2 separate regions of the Homo sapiens genome follow, and region 2 is linked to region 1. The links are contacts of gene promoters, found by promoter capture Hi-C in blood cells and fetal thymus (Javierre and others, 2016). All regions are on one chromosome and are shown on one strand. Each heading gives the region's core, a stretch centred on a gene start or on the middle of the fragment in contact. The rest is flanking DNA. Distances are from core to core; before and after follow the strand shown. Region 1 holds the start of RNF13 (ring finger protein 13). Region 2 holds the start of CCNL1 (cyclin L1).

Region 1 (6,775 bases), core at 2,318-4,817:
GTTTTATTTTTCTTTGATCCTCTTTAAATTTTATTACAATGTGCCTAAATATGAATTTATTTTGTGTTTCTTTAGGGTATATTCCTTGGATTGAATTGCTATGTCATAGAAAATTTTCTTTTTCACCCTCCCTAGACAATTTCAAATTGTTTGCTAATGTGATTATGTCAGTTCACACCCCAATGACTTCTTCCATCTTTATATTGCATTATGTCATATGACTTTTTGCATGCTTATTTTGTAATTCCTTTGTTAGCAAACAGAGGAAAACTGGTTCTCAGTGTGCAAAGGAAAAGTTGAATTTGCATGTTGGTCATCTCAGATATACAGAGAAGTAACTCATCCCACATAAAACAATGACTAGATCATTTTTAAGGCATTGAACATTAAGCACACCTCTTTTTGCCTGATCTTTCTCAACTCCTTGAAAATAAATTGGATAAACTTTGTTGAAAAACCCTCTGACTGATATGTATCGCCTTAGGTTCTGAACTTTTCACTTTTTATCTTACTTAATGAACCCATTCATTAATTTGGAACTTGGCAAAGAAATTAGAATCTTTTAGAATCTTTGGCTAAAAGTTCCCTGATGCTATTTGTAGAAATTCTGTTTGGTACTTTTCAAAATTGCTTATTTCATACACATATAAATTCTTTATGGATCTTATTCTTTCTTTTAATAGTAATAATTTTATTTTGTTTTCAAAATGAAAATACCTTTTTTCTGATTCTAAAATTACTTTTTTTCTGTTTCTAAATATGATAATATATAGAATTGTTTAAGGTTTCTGATTAATCTCTGTGCTTAAGGAGACAGCCTGCATTCTTTCTGGTATTTAGGGAGAACTATTTCTAAGCCATTTCAGACAATTACATAATTGGGTATCTGTCTTTTTTTGTTGTTGTTGCCTTACAATATTTTGGAAGCAGGAGATTCTACAATTACTTTTACGTGCTATCTGTTTGTACTTTTTAGGAAGGTTTAAAAAAAAAACCTGTTAGATACAACACCCTAAAAGCACATTTTGATTTTTAAAAAGATAATTAGTGGTATATTAGTATCACGTGCCTTATTAACCCTTCATGTTCTTGAAAATTGTAATTATGATATCTGTCAATCTTACTGTCTAATCTGCTTTAGAAAGATTAATACATTTTTCCAATATATTTTTTTCCAATTTACCTTTTTCAGCACAGGTTGGGAGAGTAAATGTTTTTGCAGAGTGTAGCCTAAATGCAGTACAAATGACACATTACCTTGTTCATAGTTGAGAGAACTATACCTATTGTTATCTGAAGAGCAGGTTGAAACCAGAAGTAAAATATTCTGTACTCAAGGTGCCTTTAAGGAATAAGCAAAGCTCTTTGTCTGAGCGTGGTGACTCATGCCTGTAATCCTAGCACTTTGGGAGACCGAGGCAAGAAGATCCTTTGAGGCCAGGAGTTTGAGACCTGCCTGGGCAACATAGCCAGACTGTAAGGCTAAAAAAAATAAAAAAATTAGCCAGGCCTGGTGGCACATGCCTGTAATCCTAGCTACTCCAGAGGTTGAGGTGGGAGGATTACTTGAGCCCAGGAGTTCTGGACTGCAGTGAGACATGATCTCACCACTGCACTCCAGCCTGGGCAACAGAGTGAGACCTTGTCTCTAAAATAAATAAAAATAAAACAACAAAACCCAAAGCTCCTCTCTGTGGACTTAATTTTTTTTTTTTTTTTTGGAGATGGAATCTTGCTCTGTTGCCTATGCCCGAGTGCAGTGGTGGGATCTCAGCTCACTGTAACCTCTGCCTCCCATGTTCAAGCGATTCTCCTGCCTCAGCTTCCCAAGTAGCTGGGATTACAGGTGTGCACCACAATGCCCGGCTAATTTTGTATTTTTAGTAGAGACGAGGTTTCACCATGTTGGCCAGTGTGGTCTTGAACTCCTGACCTCAAGTGATCCGCCTGACTTGGCCTCCCAAAGTGCTGGGATTACAGGCATGAGCCACCGCACCCGGCCTAAAAAAATTTATTTTGATGTTATGCAAGAAATCTGATTTAATATACCAATTTGGGATAATTTAATGAAAAAAATGCTTATAGAGATATTATAAATGTGTTTATACTAATTAGTCTTCTTAGTAATATTCCCAATGCTGACTTTTATTTATGACTTTCTTAAAGGCAGAATTGTGATTTAAGTATTGAATGTCTTTGCAACCAATGAAAAGTTAAGACTACATAGAATACTCATAGGATACACAGAAGAGGAAAGTACCTTTGATAGCTTTTATTTAATTTTTTAAAATTTGATCTTAAATTTCTTGTATTTGAATTTTATTTGAGTAGGTAATATTTGCAAGGTTCAAAATTCAAAAGGCACAAAAGGATACACAATAAGGAAAGAGTCTTTTCCCCATTGCTGTGTCCCACCTACTCAGGGCTCTCCAAGCAATCAAAGTGACAAGTTACATCCAATGGTATTCTACTAATACTCTGTGTGATAGCCTCCTCGCCACCATTTTTAAAAGATGATGTTGAAGGAGTTGAAGCCTGTAAAGGCCTTATTAAGGGTGCCTTATTATTTGAAGCAGAAGTAGTGCCTGATTCTATGTCTCCTGACATTTCTTTCAGGACTCTGTAATATTTGCCTAAGTCACACTGCTTTTGTAAGGTGGCGAGTTGGCAATGATTAATCAATGTGGATGGTACAATCCGGTAATTTAAGTTTCGACTGGTTTAAGATTGAGACAACCAGAAAGGAAGGCTTATCAGAAGGGCGGCAGGGGAGGAGATTTTTGGTTCATCAAAAGGAGGCAAGGGTTTTAAAAGGCTGACCTAGGGCCTGAATCACATGGTTTGACTTTTGCTAAGCCCCGGGGATGGCGCGTGTCAGGCCCAGAGTGCTGATGCCAGCGTGGATCCGAGCCAGGCCTCAGGGGACTGGCGTTCAGACCTCGGGCCGCTCGCATCTCTAACAATTTGAGCCCTACTTTAAGGTGTGGCCACGGTCCCCACCCACTCTGATCTCAGACTGGGCACGGTACGGAAGGCGGGCGGATGAGGCCTCGCCCTCGCCTCTTTAGTAGGTCGGGTGAGTGTAGTGTGCAGGGAAGAGACGCGTCAGCGCCAGGGCCAGGCCCGCCCGGGGGCAGCCCGGCAGCCGAATCTTGGGCTACTCTGTCCCAACAGCCGGAGCAGATCAGACCGACCGGCCCTGCCCGCTCGGTCCCGCGCCCTCCAGACCCTACGGTCTCCGTTTCTAGGGGCACATGGTTAGCGGCAGGCGCCCACAGCCAATCCACTTTGCCAGCCTGCCCCTTCCTCTGCCAAGAGCAGCTTCTTCAGCCGCGCTCCAGTTCCGCAGACGCCTGCCCCACCCTGCTCTTCCCTTCCAGGGAAGACGGATCACGCGGCCAAGAACGAGACTCGCAAACTGGGCATTTCTCCGAGCCGGGCTAGAGCAAGTAGCGAGACTCCGCGTGAGAGTGGGAAAGAGCCTTAACAGGCAACCATGTTGCCCAGTGGGTTTTCTGTGCCTTTGGGTGCGGACCAATGAGGCGCGTGGGGCGGGACTTCCGCTTCGCCTAGGTGTTGTCGTCCCTGCTAGTACTCCGGGCTGTGGGGGTCGGTGCGGATATTCAGTCATGAAATCAGGGTAGGGACTTCTCCCGCAGCGACGCGGCTGGCAAGACTGTTTGTGTTGCGGGGGCCGGACTTCAAGGTAAGACCCTGTCCGGCTTCGCGGCAGCCGGGCAGCTCGTTATCGAGCGGCCCAGAGAACATACCCCGCTTGTTGGCCCTCGAGCTCGGAGTCGGCCCTGCTGCTGAGGTCTTTGCTGCTCCTCTAGAGCTGGGTGAGAAGTCAATTAGGCTTTTTGCAAAAGGAATAAAATAGCCTTGCCCTCGGGGGACCGAGTCTCCCCTGCACTCTCATTCCGCGAGTTTGTGTGTGTCCAAAGTTGAGTTACCGGTTTTGCTTCTCTCATTCCCTTCTTGAGGCTGCAAGAGCCTGCCTGGAAAACATGTTTGGAAGGCTTTTCTTGGTCAAGTACCTGCCGCAACGTCCTCGGGCACATCGCTTGACTTTAGTTGAGGGGGCTGTTTTGTCTCTGAATAGAAGGAGGGCAGTCACTTCCTCTCTTTTACCCCCACCCCCTTTTTCTTTCCCTGGAAGCTCAGATTGCAGGTTTGGGACTTAACCCCTGCTAGGGCCAGATACTACGGTCAGTCAGCAGCTCTGCCTGTATGCTTGACTTGACTTGACTTGCACTTATTAAATAACTTTGTCCCAGAGAGAAAGAGAGAGTGGGCAGACATCGAAGCCAAACAGCAGTATCCCGGAAGCACTCATGCAACTTTGGTGGCGGCCACTCAGTTTTCTCTGCCAGTGTCTGGTAAATTCCTCTATTTTGTCCTAATCTGACAATAGTAAATAGTAAATTTCCAAAACTGTCGTTTCATCATCAGTTTCAGCACCGTGGGCAGCTGCTCGGGTCCTCTCTTGTTGCCCCAAACCTGCCCGGCTATTACTGTTCGTCAGTGATGCAGCAGAAACAGTGAAAACTGATGCATTCCTTTCAACAATGATGTGTTTGTTCTCCAAGGAGAACATCTGCAGTTTTTGATACAATATAAATAAGTAAGGTGGCTGTGCCTCCAAAGAGTTCTTCTGGAGAAACAGATCAATTCAAGATTTAAGGTAGGGCTTTCAAGAGTTTATGCTATTTAAGCACAGTTTTTTAATGGGTGGACATTAGCTCCATCTCGAAGTAACAAAACTGGACAGTGATAGCAATTAAAAAGAACTTTAAACAGGAGGTAAGAAGTGTAGTGCAGTGCTGTAGTGCAGGAAGTGTAGTGCAGTGCTGTAGTGCAGGGCCCATAAGGATTCATTAATAGATTTTAGAATCAATTTAGTACATTGACATAAGCTTTATAAAGAAAGAAAAAATACCAGAGGACATTGTATGGAATAAAAGTAAATATTATGGCAAGAAGCTTTTGTTTCAGTTTTTAACAGTATGTGTGTGTCAAGAGGAAGATGGAAATGTAAAGTGTATTATGGATTATGGCAAAAACAAATGTTTCAAAATACTAAATTCCAAATTTGGGAGTCAAGCTGGGTTCAGCTCTGCCATTTACTAATTCTGTGACATTTTCCGTAAATAAGAAATGAGTTGTTATGAGGATTAAATGAAACAAAATTTGTCTATTACATAATTTTTTTTTGTTTTGTTGGAAACTGTTGGAGAGAGGCACAGTTATTTTTCTCTATGTAGGGAATGAGAACTGTTTTATTAGTTTTTTTTTTTTTAACCTCTGCCTTTGTTTGAAGCTAGGCAGCTTGACATCTTGTCTCTATGTGTAATGCAAATCATAGACAGAATCTTGGTTTGAGAGGTATAATACTGAAGGGTTTGGGATAAGTTCTCATCTATGCTTGTATAAAGCTAATTTTCTCAATAATTTTGGAGGGGCATAAATTGTTGCTAGCATTCAGCTTTCTTCCCTTGATATTTTTCTGCATTCCAGAATAACGTAGATTTATCAGAACTTTTACAGGCACTAACTTTAGCTAAGTGAGGGTAGGCCTGAGGGTATGACTAAAGGGATAGATTTATGTCTTTGAGTTAAGTTGGCTAGGAAGGCATTTTATGCCTTATAGTTCTTGCCATAAGAGATGTATGAAATGAAATAGTTTGGTCAACTATCATGGTATGTTTTGCTTACTTCATGTAGGTGTGACCTAGAAATGGTTGGCATTTAAATAACAATATTTTTAAATCTGGGAATTGATGTTTAGCAGGAGGCAAATGAGTTTCAGTCAAAACAGTGTTTTGCACCATTTGTCATGTTTACCATATGGCATTGCATATGATAGTTTCACATGACATAAAAAGGGGAAGAAAGTTGGTAAGCATTGTTACTTTTCCCAAAAGAGGAAACAAAATTAGAAGCGAATTCCTTTTAATAAAGCATACTGGTGAGTCATTGTTCAAAAATGTATGTATTCTATAGATATTTATTGAGCATATATAAAAGTAAAATATTAAACTTTTATGAATCTTTTACATTACACAAAAGTTGATTTGGGAACAACACAGCATATGATTGGTATTGTCAAAGTTTATATAGCATAGTATATCAACAACAACAAAACAGTAATGTAGCTAATATTGATTGGTTAATATGAGCCAAATACAATTCTAAGTGCTTTATAATATCTCAGGTGGTTCTTACAGTCATTGATGTGGTAGATAGTAAGTTGTTTCCTTTTTATTTTTTTTTGGGACAGGGTCTTGCTCTGTTGCCCAGGCTGGAGCAATTATGGCTCACTGCACCCTCGACCTCCCGTGCTCAAGGGATCCTCCTATCTTAGCCCGACAAGTAGCTGGGACTACAGTCATAAACCCCCATGCCTGGCTAATTAAATTTTTTTTTTTTTTTTGTAGAGACAAGGTCTCATTATGTTGCTCAGTCTGGTATGAAACTTTAGGGTTCAAGTCATCCACCTGCTTCAGCCTTCCAAAATGCTGGGATTACAGGTGTGATACATCATGCCTGTCTTATCCCCATTTTCTAAGTGGGAAGTGGGGGAATTAAGGCATCACAGATACATAACTTCTGAGTTCACACAAGTAGCTGGTGGAGTAGCTGGAATTTGATCACAGGTATTCTGACTACAGAACGTCTGTCTCTTTTGTGTCTTATTTCATTAAAAAATATGGAATGCTGTGGGGCTATTGTGGATTCGTACTTGCTGGTGACCTTGGGGAAGCTCCTCCTCAAT
Region 2 (6,914 bases), core at 3,450-5,949, 7.3 Mb after region 1:
AGATTTAAGAAAACCAAACCCATTATTTACTATAATTCAATATATACTTAACTTCTTGCTTAATCCTGCTATTTATTACCTGCAATTTTCAAAGTTAACTTTGTGGGTATATAACCTAAAACCAGATACCTTTATTTTGTTCAGAATTGGTTCTACCTCACAAATCAACGGTGCACACGTAATTTACAACTACCTGGTAGAGATTACTTTGTATCATAAATTTAAAAAATATATCTCCATCAATCAGCAGTAAACAAAGTCTCAAAGTATACATTAGTACCTTCTGTTGCAACAAGCACATTAAATTAAGGCCTGCTAGAATTTCTTCCTCCCCAATCAGGTAAACTTTCTTTGCCAATAAAGTTTGAGGAGGTGGCATTTGAAAATCTCTTTAAAAAAGAAGTCTTCATCTATTCAGAGAAAACTCAAAAATAATTTTCATTATCAACACACAAACTAACTCAATCTCTGCTTTAAGTTTCTATTGTCCAATTTTTCTGATTTATACGAGAATTATTTTCAGCTTTAGAAAATCCTGGTCTTTGGTCATTAGAAGTTTATTATTATGGTTTGTTAGAGGAGCTATTTTCCTTTAGCATGATTATGTAATTGACATATAACTCAACAACAACAAAAATTACAAAGTCCAAACATGGTTAGTTTCATTTATGTGTTACAAAGACTGAGAAATATTGGAACCAAGTCTTCAAGAGACTATAACAGATTGGTAGTTTACAAAGAGGCATACTGCCAAGCAATATACAAAAATTTGTAATGCCTACTTAAAAGTAGAAACATCCTTTATAGGTATTTAAACAAACTGAAGGCCACCTTGTAGAGCCACAGAATTATACTGTAGAAAGGTGGTAGACTAAATGACATCACTTAACACCCTTCCAATTCTTACCTATCCAACTTTTATTATCTATGGATACACTGAAAATACATTGTATTTACTAATGAGAATGGTTAAACCAGTCTTTGAAAATTTTAATACGCTGCATCTCAAAAGTAAATATTTGGAAACTAGAACAATGAAAAAGCAATCCCCCCTCTAAATTTAGCTGTTTATTGTCAACTTAAAAGATAATTATCGAACCACAAAAAACTGAAGGAGGAATAGGCCAAACAATCCAGGTTGGGGACTAAGCACTGGTACTTTTTAAAAAGCTCCTCTGCTAATTCTCAATGTGTAGCCAGGCTGAAGAGACCAATGACCTACAAGCAACATGAATAATGTATCTCCACTGTAATTGTCAAAGTCACACTACAATTTAAAGTTATGAATAAACTAGATTAAAACAAATAGCATCATTAAGACAAGTGATATGCTTTACCTAACCAATGTATAATACTGATAGTACTTTCTAATGACATTAACCTATGCAAAAATAAATACAAAGCTATAGTTCTAATAACTTGGACAGCAAAGACAAAAGCTTATAACAAGAAACAGGAGTTTTTCTAAATGGTTCACCAGTGGCCAACCTGTTAGTCCCCGATTCCAGTGACCTATTCTCAGAGCACTGGCTTCTCCTTGGGGATTTTCGATACTTCACTCACTGTTGCCATGACGACAGCTTCATCTCTATGTACCACTCCACATCACCCAGGCTTTGGTAAATGTAGCTGGTCGCTGTATAGTCGGTTGCAAGGGAAAAAAGAGTTGAAGTTAATAACATATACAAGTTACGTGCTTGAGTAAACTTGTAATATGCATAGAAACACTTTTACATCCTGCTTTAAAAAAAGGCTTCCATGCAATTAACAACTCCTTTTAAATTTTGCTATAATCAGACTTCTAAGATTGAAACAAAATCAGTTTCTCTGTAATAATGACCCAAAAAACAAAGTTACATCAGACACAACAATCAGGTGAGATTATATTATTTTAAATTCCATGGTTTTTACAGTTAAGACCTATTCTAACATCAACGAAGTAAACTAGTCTCACAGGAAAATTCCACAGAAGATAATCATGTGATTACATAATAGTTGGCTCAATGGTTCAAAGAATACTAGAAAACCATTTCCTTTAAGCAAAGAGAAACCTTTGACTAAAGATAGAGCCTTGTATTAGTGTCATTACTTTAAACATCCTGAAGAATCAGCCAGGTATCTAAATACAGATTTAACCTCAGACCATACCAAAGACCAATTTGAAATCTTCCCAATTCCCAGGGACTCATCAACAAACTAAAAGATATTTTAGAATTTAAAAAGTACTCTATCCCTGGACACAGTTAAGGTGAATGAGAAAAGATGGGGGAGAAAAAGTATGTAGGAAAACTGTTGCAGACTTTTTGACTAGGATACTCTTTTTTTAAAAAAGAACTGTCTGTAGACTCACAGAATAGACTAGTCATCTTAAAGTTGCTTTAATATTTGCTTGTCTGAATAGTTCCATTACTGCCAACTTACAGATTCAGCCAATAAGGACTACTCATATAGAATACTAACAGCACTAACCAACATACCCAACCCCCAGAACAACTTATAATCCTTTTAATAACTTCCTTTCAAACTCAGTACAATTTGTCTAACATCACTACAATTCCTTAAAGAGTGAATGCAAAAACTATTCTACACCAAATATATCATTCTGCAGCATGTACTGGAAGTCACCTGTAGATGCAGGAAGTCCTGCAACAAACTTTTTGGTACTGCCTCACAGGAACACATAGGTCCACATAAAATTATGTTACCACAACACCTAGGAGATACTATTTCAGTCTCTGTATTTTCTTACAACATCAAATAAATGGCCCTATCTAAATGCAACCCAATCAATCTTACTTGTTAATTTTCTAACCCACTCACTGAGACTGTATCTAACCAAAACAAAATACCTGTTTAATCCCTTTGACTTCAAACTTCAAACTTTATCATCCTGCAGTCCTTTCAGATCCGGTATTATTCGATTTATCGTAGTTCAATGTTGAGAAGTACTCTAACAAAAGCCAACCTCAATTGATAAAGAATTAACTGGGACTTCGAGTAGAAAAACATAATCTACACAGAACTTTGCCACAATATTAACTTAAACTACAGTGTTTAAACTTCCAGCCTTCAGTCTTCCAGAGAGGGGAGAGGAAAAATAACTTACAGAATACACTCACACTTGAGCCAAATGTACTCCCTTTCTTGTTTAATCTTAAGCCACAGGCCTGGCTTCACAGCACTGTTAGGATTGTCCATAAATGCAACTGCCTCTACAAACTTTAGATAACCGGTTAATTATGTTTCTTTTTTCAAATTATTTTAAGTATCAGTGTTCCTATATGAACTTTAACACCTAAATTAAAGTCCGTTTTCTTTTGCATCCGTATTCACTTGAAAGGAAAGATGTTTTGATTTGATGACTGGTGCACGGTACAGCAGTAGCAAGAGATACTATGTTCAATAATGCCAATCTTACCTTTTTCCTCTTAACTGGCGGAGGTGGTGGAATACATTAATCACATCTCTTATTCTTCTAGGTGCTTCTTCGATTTTTGATGCAAGATTAATACAAGCCATAGCAACAATCTGAAAGAACCCATGAGCCACAAAAGCCATTGTTAGATTAAACTCACTTTGAAGAATAAAATTTAGAACACAATTGGGACAACCTTTAGTAAAATTAGAGAAGACATCTCTATGCCGTAAGTCTACCAGCTATGCTAGTACTATACTTTTTGTTGTTTAACTCATCTTAATTTTGGTTCCAGAGTCAAACTCAATCTTACAGGAGTTCTGCATTTGGTTGAAAACTGTACTTTTCGTTAAGAGGGCACTTAGGCTCGTGATCGATTTTGAACCACATTCTAAAGGTTTCCACTTCCTGGCGAGTGAGAAGTAGGTACAAAGGCCTAAACTAAACCACTCCCTTTCTGGAAAAGCTGGCTGCTGACACTACCCCTACTCTGCCCATTTCCGGATGAAGAAATCCCTTTTACCCGCCTCCGCTGTGCTTACCTCGAAACTGTGTTTGACGAAAGATTTGGAGTAGAAAAAACGATGAAACAACACCTGCCCCGTTGCCATCGCCACCTGCAGACAAGAGAGGAGAACGGAAGCGCAGGGGTCAGGCGGGCCCGCTCCAGGCGCCGCCGCCATTTTGTGCCGCCGATCGCTTCCCTTTCCCCTCCCGCCGCCGCCGCCGCTGCGAACAGCCCGCTGCCAAGTCCTCCCTCCGCCTCCGCAGCCCCCCGCCCCGGCACGCCCCGGCCGCGGCTGGGCCCCGAACGGGAAAGCCTGAAGGAACCGTCCCCACCCTCCCGGGGCACGGTGATACTGAGATGCGGCGTAGGGGACGGAGGAGAGGAGAGGAGCGCCCGGCCGGCCCGGGGCCGGAGCACTGACCTGCGGCAGCCGGAGGAGAATGCCGGCGGCCTGGATGAGCTCGCAGCCCAGGATGCGTAAGTCCGTCTCACTGGGCAGGTCGAGCCCATCCTGCATGGATGGGGTGGGCGAGAGCCTCTCCTCCGGAATCAGAGAGTGGTCGATGGTAAGTGAAACTTCCGAGTACAGGCGATCGCCGATCAGGATCCCTCCCGTCGTGGTCGTCGTCGTGGTCGTCGTCCCGGAGCTGGAGCCGCCCGCGCTTGGGGCGGCCGATGAGGCGGCTGCGGCAGCAGTAGCTGTCGAATGAGGCCCGGACGCCATAGTCTTAGCGAGCCGCACGCAAGCCCAACGCAGCCGGAACCCGAAACAAGACTAACCAGCGTTCTCGGCGCGACGGATATTCCCGTGACCGCCGGGTTCTGGGCCGCTTCACGCCGCGTGCGCTTCCGCCCTGACGTCACCACGCCGGGCAGCCGCGCGCCAACTAGTCCCTCCAGGCCGCGCCTCCGCCCTCGGCATCTGGGCCTGCGAGGGGAGTGTTGGGTGCTGCGACAGACCTTGGGATCCTCAGAGGCTGAGGAGGCCTTCTCTAGCCAAGGCCGGTCGAAACCACCTTGTTTGTGATAGCCACACGAATAACGGAGCTTTACAAGATCCCTTATACCCAAAATAGAGGTGGCAGCATTGGCTAGCATCTCTGCGCCCCTTCGCCCTGCATTCCGGCCTCTTCCTTTAGCCTCGGCGCGGCTTGCGTTCCGCGTGTACCAAGGGAAGTGGCGGCCGACCTGAGCGCGCTTTGGCGGGTGGAAGTGGTGACTTTGTTGTCCTGTGTGGACGAATGTGTAATATAAAGTGACCCTCAAGGAATCTGGAGAGGGCTGCTTTACAGTATTTGAAGAACACAGGGCTGTGGACCCTATCGGTTCCCAAATGAAAGCTCCCCGGGGAGCGTGTTTTTGCCAGTATGGGGAAGTAGGGCGGAGGCATAGGAATGACCGCGAGAGTGGCTGCTTTCATAGCTCCGCTTGCGAAACTCCTGCCCGGCCTTTGACACCGCCACGGCTTTCAGTAATCTGGAAAATCCCTAGTTTCCAAAAATAGTCTTAGGGCGAGGACTTGACAGAGGTAATTTGATTATGCCTGGGAGTCTCTATTCATACATGGTTACCTACCGCGGGTAGGGTGAGGTCAACCTCGTGTTTTTTGTTTTTTTTCCTGTGATATTAGCTAGCAATTTCCAGCGTTTCCTGAACCTTGAAGTAAAAACAATGATACTGATCTAAACTACTAGAATCTAGGTTGGAAGGAAAGGAATGCATCACGTTTTACTCTTGACGCTCAGAAAGCGATACCCCAAAGACAGAGGCTTTAGAAGCTGCCTCATAATGCAGGTCCCCCAACCTTGACTTGTTGCTCCCACTTTTCCCAAGTGCAGGGAGGTACTCTCTGAAATTTCCTTTCCTGACTAGAGAAGCCTCTTTGTAGAAGAATCAATCGCATTCCTCCCCTCGCTGAAATCTCGTATCCTATTTCAAAAAGACTCAGAAATGCAGCCATTCCTGGAGGGACTTTTTCACAAGATTACTCAAAAGAAAATTATTTACTAATTTCTGTCCATTCATTGTTCCTAATAATCATTTGCTGCTCCTCAAAATAAATGTCTACATTTCTCATCTACCCTTTCCCCTATGAAAAAAAGATATAAAATCTTCTGTACTCCATTAAGCTACTGGGTAATCATCCTCCTGCTTTTACCCCGGTGTTATGTATCCCTTTTCTCCTGTTAATCGCCTGTTATCAGTTGATTTTTTTTTTCTTTTTTTTTAGATAGAGTCTCACTCTGTCGCCCAAGCTGAAGTGCAGTGGCGCGATCTCGGCTCACTGCAGCCTCCGCCTCCGGGGTTCAAGCGATTCTCCCACCTCAGCCTCCCCAGTAGCTGGGATTACAGGCACACACCACCACGTCCAGCTAATTTTTGTATTTTTGTAGAGACGGGGTTTTGCCATGTTGGCTAGGCTGGTCTTGAACTCCTGACCTCAGGTGATCCGCCCGCCTCGGCCTCCCAAAATGCTGGGATTACAGGCATCCAAAGCGCTGGAATTACAGGCATGAGCCACCGCACCCGGCCTTATCAGTTGATTAAGTGAACCTTCAGTGGGCAAAGTTGTTTTAAAATGTACTGATACTTGAGCCTTGCCTGCAGAGGTTGATGTCACTGATTTAAGGTGGGCCCAGCCAGTGGTTCAGTTTTGCCTGTCTTCGAGTGATTGGAATGTACAGCCAAGAGAGTGTAATTATGGTGCTGGCAGAAGTATTAACCTATCTGGATGTCACTGTCTTCACTTTCTGACTAGGCTGCTTCCAGGGAATCTTTCCACCTCAATATTTATGAGATATCTATAATTTTATAACAAACTTTTAAAGGAGCCTCGGTTTCCTTAAACACAATTGATGACACCAGTTTTCTGGTTTTCTTCCATTTTTGTTTATAGAGCCAGGGTCTCACTGTGTTGCCCAGGCTGGCCTTGAACTCCTGAACTCAAGGGATCTTCCCACCTCAGCCACCTGAGTAGCTGGGACTATAAGT

Evidence for each region. Contacts are between HindIII fragments. The CHiCAGO score rates a contact against its expected background, and 5 or more counts as called.
Region 2: a contact is called between the fragment with the promoter of CCNL1 here and the fragment with the promoter of RNF13 in region 1, in 1 of 17 cell types (neutrophils). The highest score is 5.1, in neutrophils.

The regions. Positions count from the first base shown.
Region 1 is chr3:149,809,648-149,816,422 of GRCh38, forward strand. RNF13 (ring finger protein 13) reads left to right here and starts at 3,568. Exons shown (of 10, transcript NM_183381.3): 1 at 3,568-3,706. RefSeq lists enhancers at 2,925-3,436, 3,302-3,411 and a silencer at 2,942-3,091. The HindIII fragment of the contact is 6,716 bases long and covers 1-4,914 here.
Region 2 is chr3:157,155,448-157,162,361 of GRCh38, forward strand. It overlaps CCNL1 (cyclin L1), which reads right to left and starts at 4,700. Exons shown (of 11, transcript NM_020307.4): 1 at 4,345-4,700; 2 at 3,958-4,032; 3 at 3,419-3,528. The coding sequence starts at 4,647. RefSeq lists enhancers at 3,912-3,981, 4,615-5,344, 5,432-5,481, 5,502-5,561 and a silencer at 4,122-4,331. The HindIII fragment of the contact is 11,903 bases long and covers 1,438-6,914 here.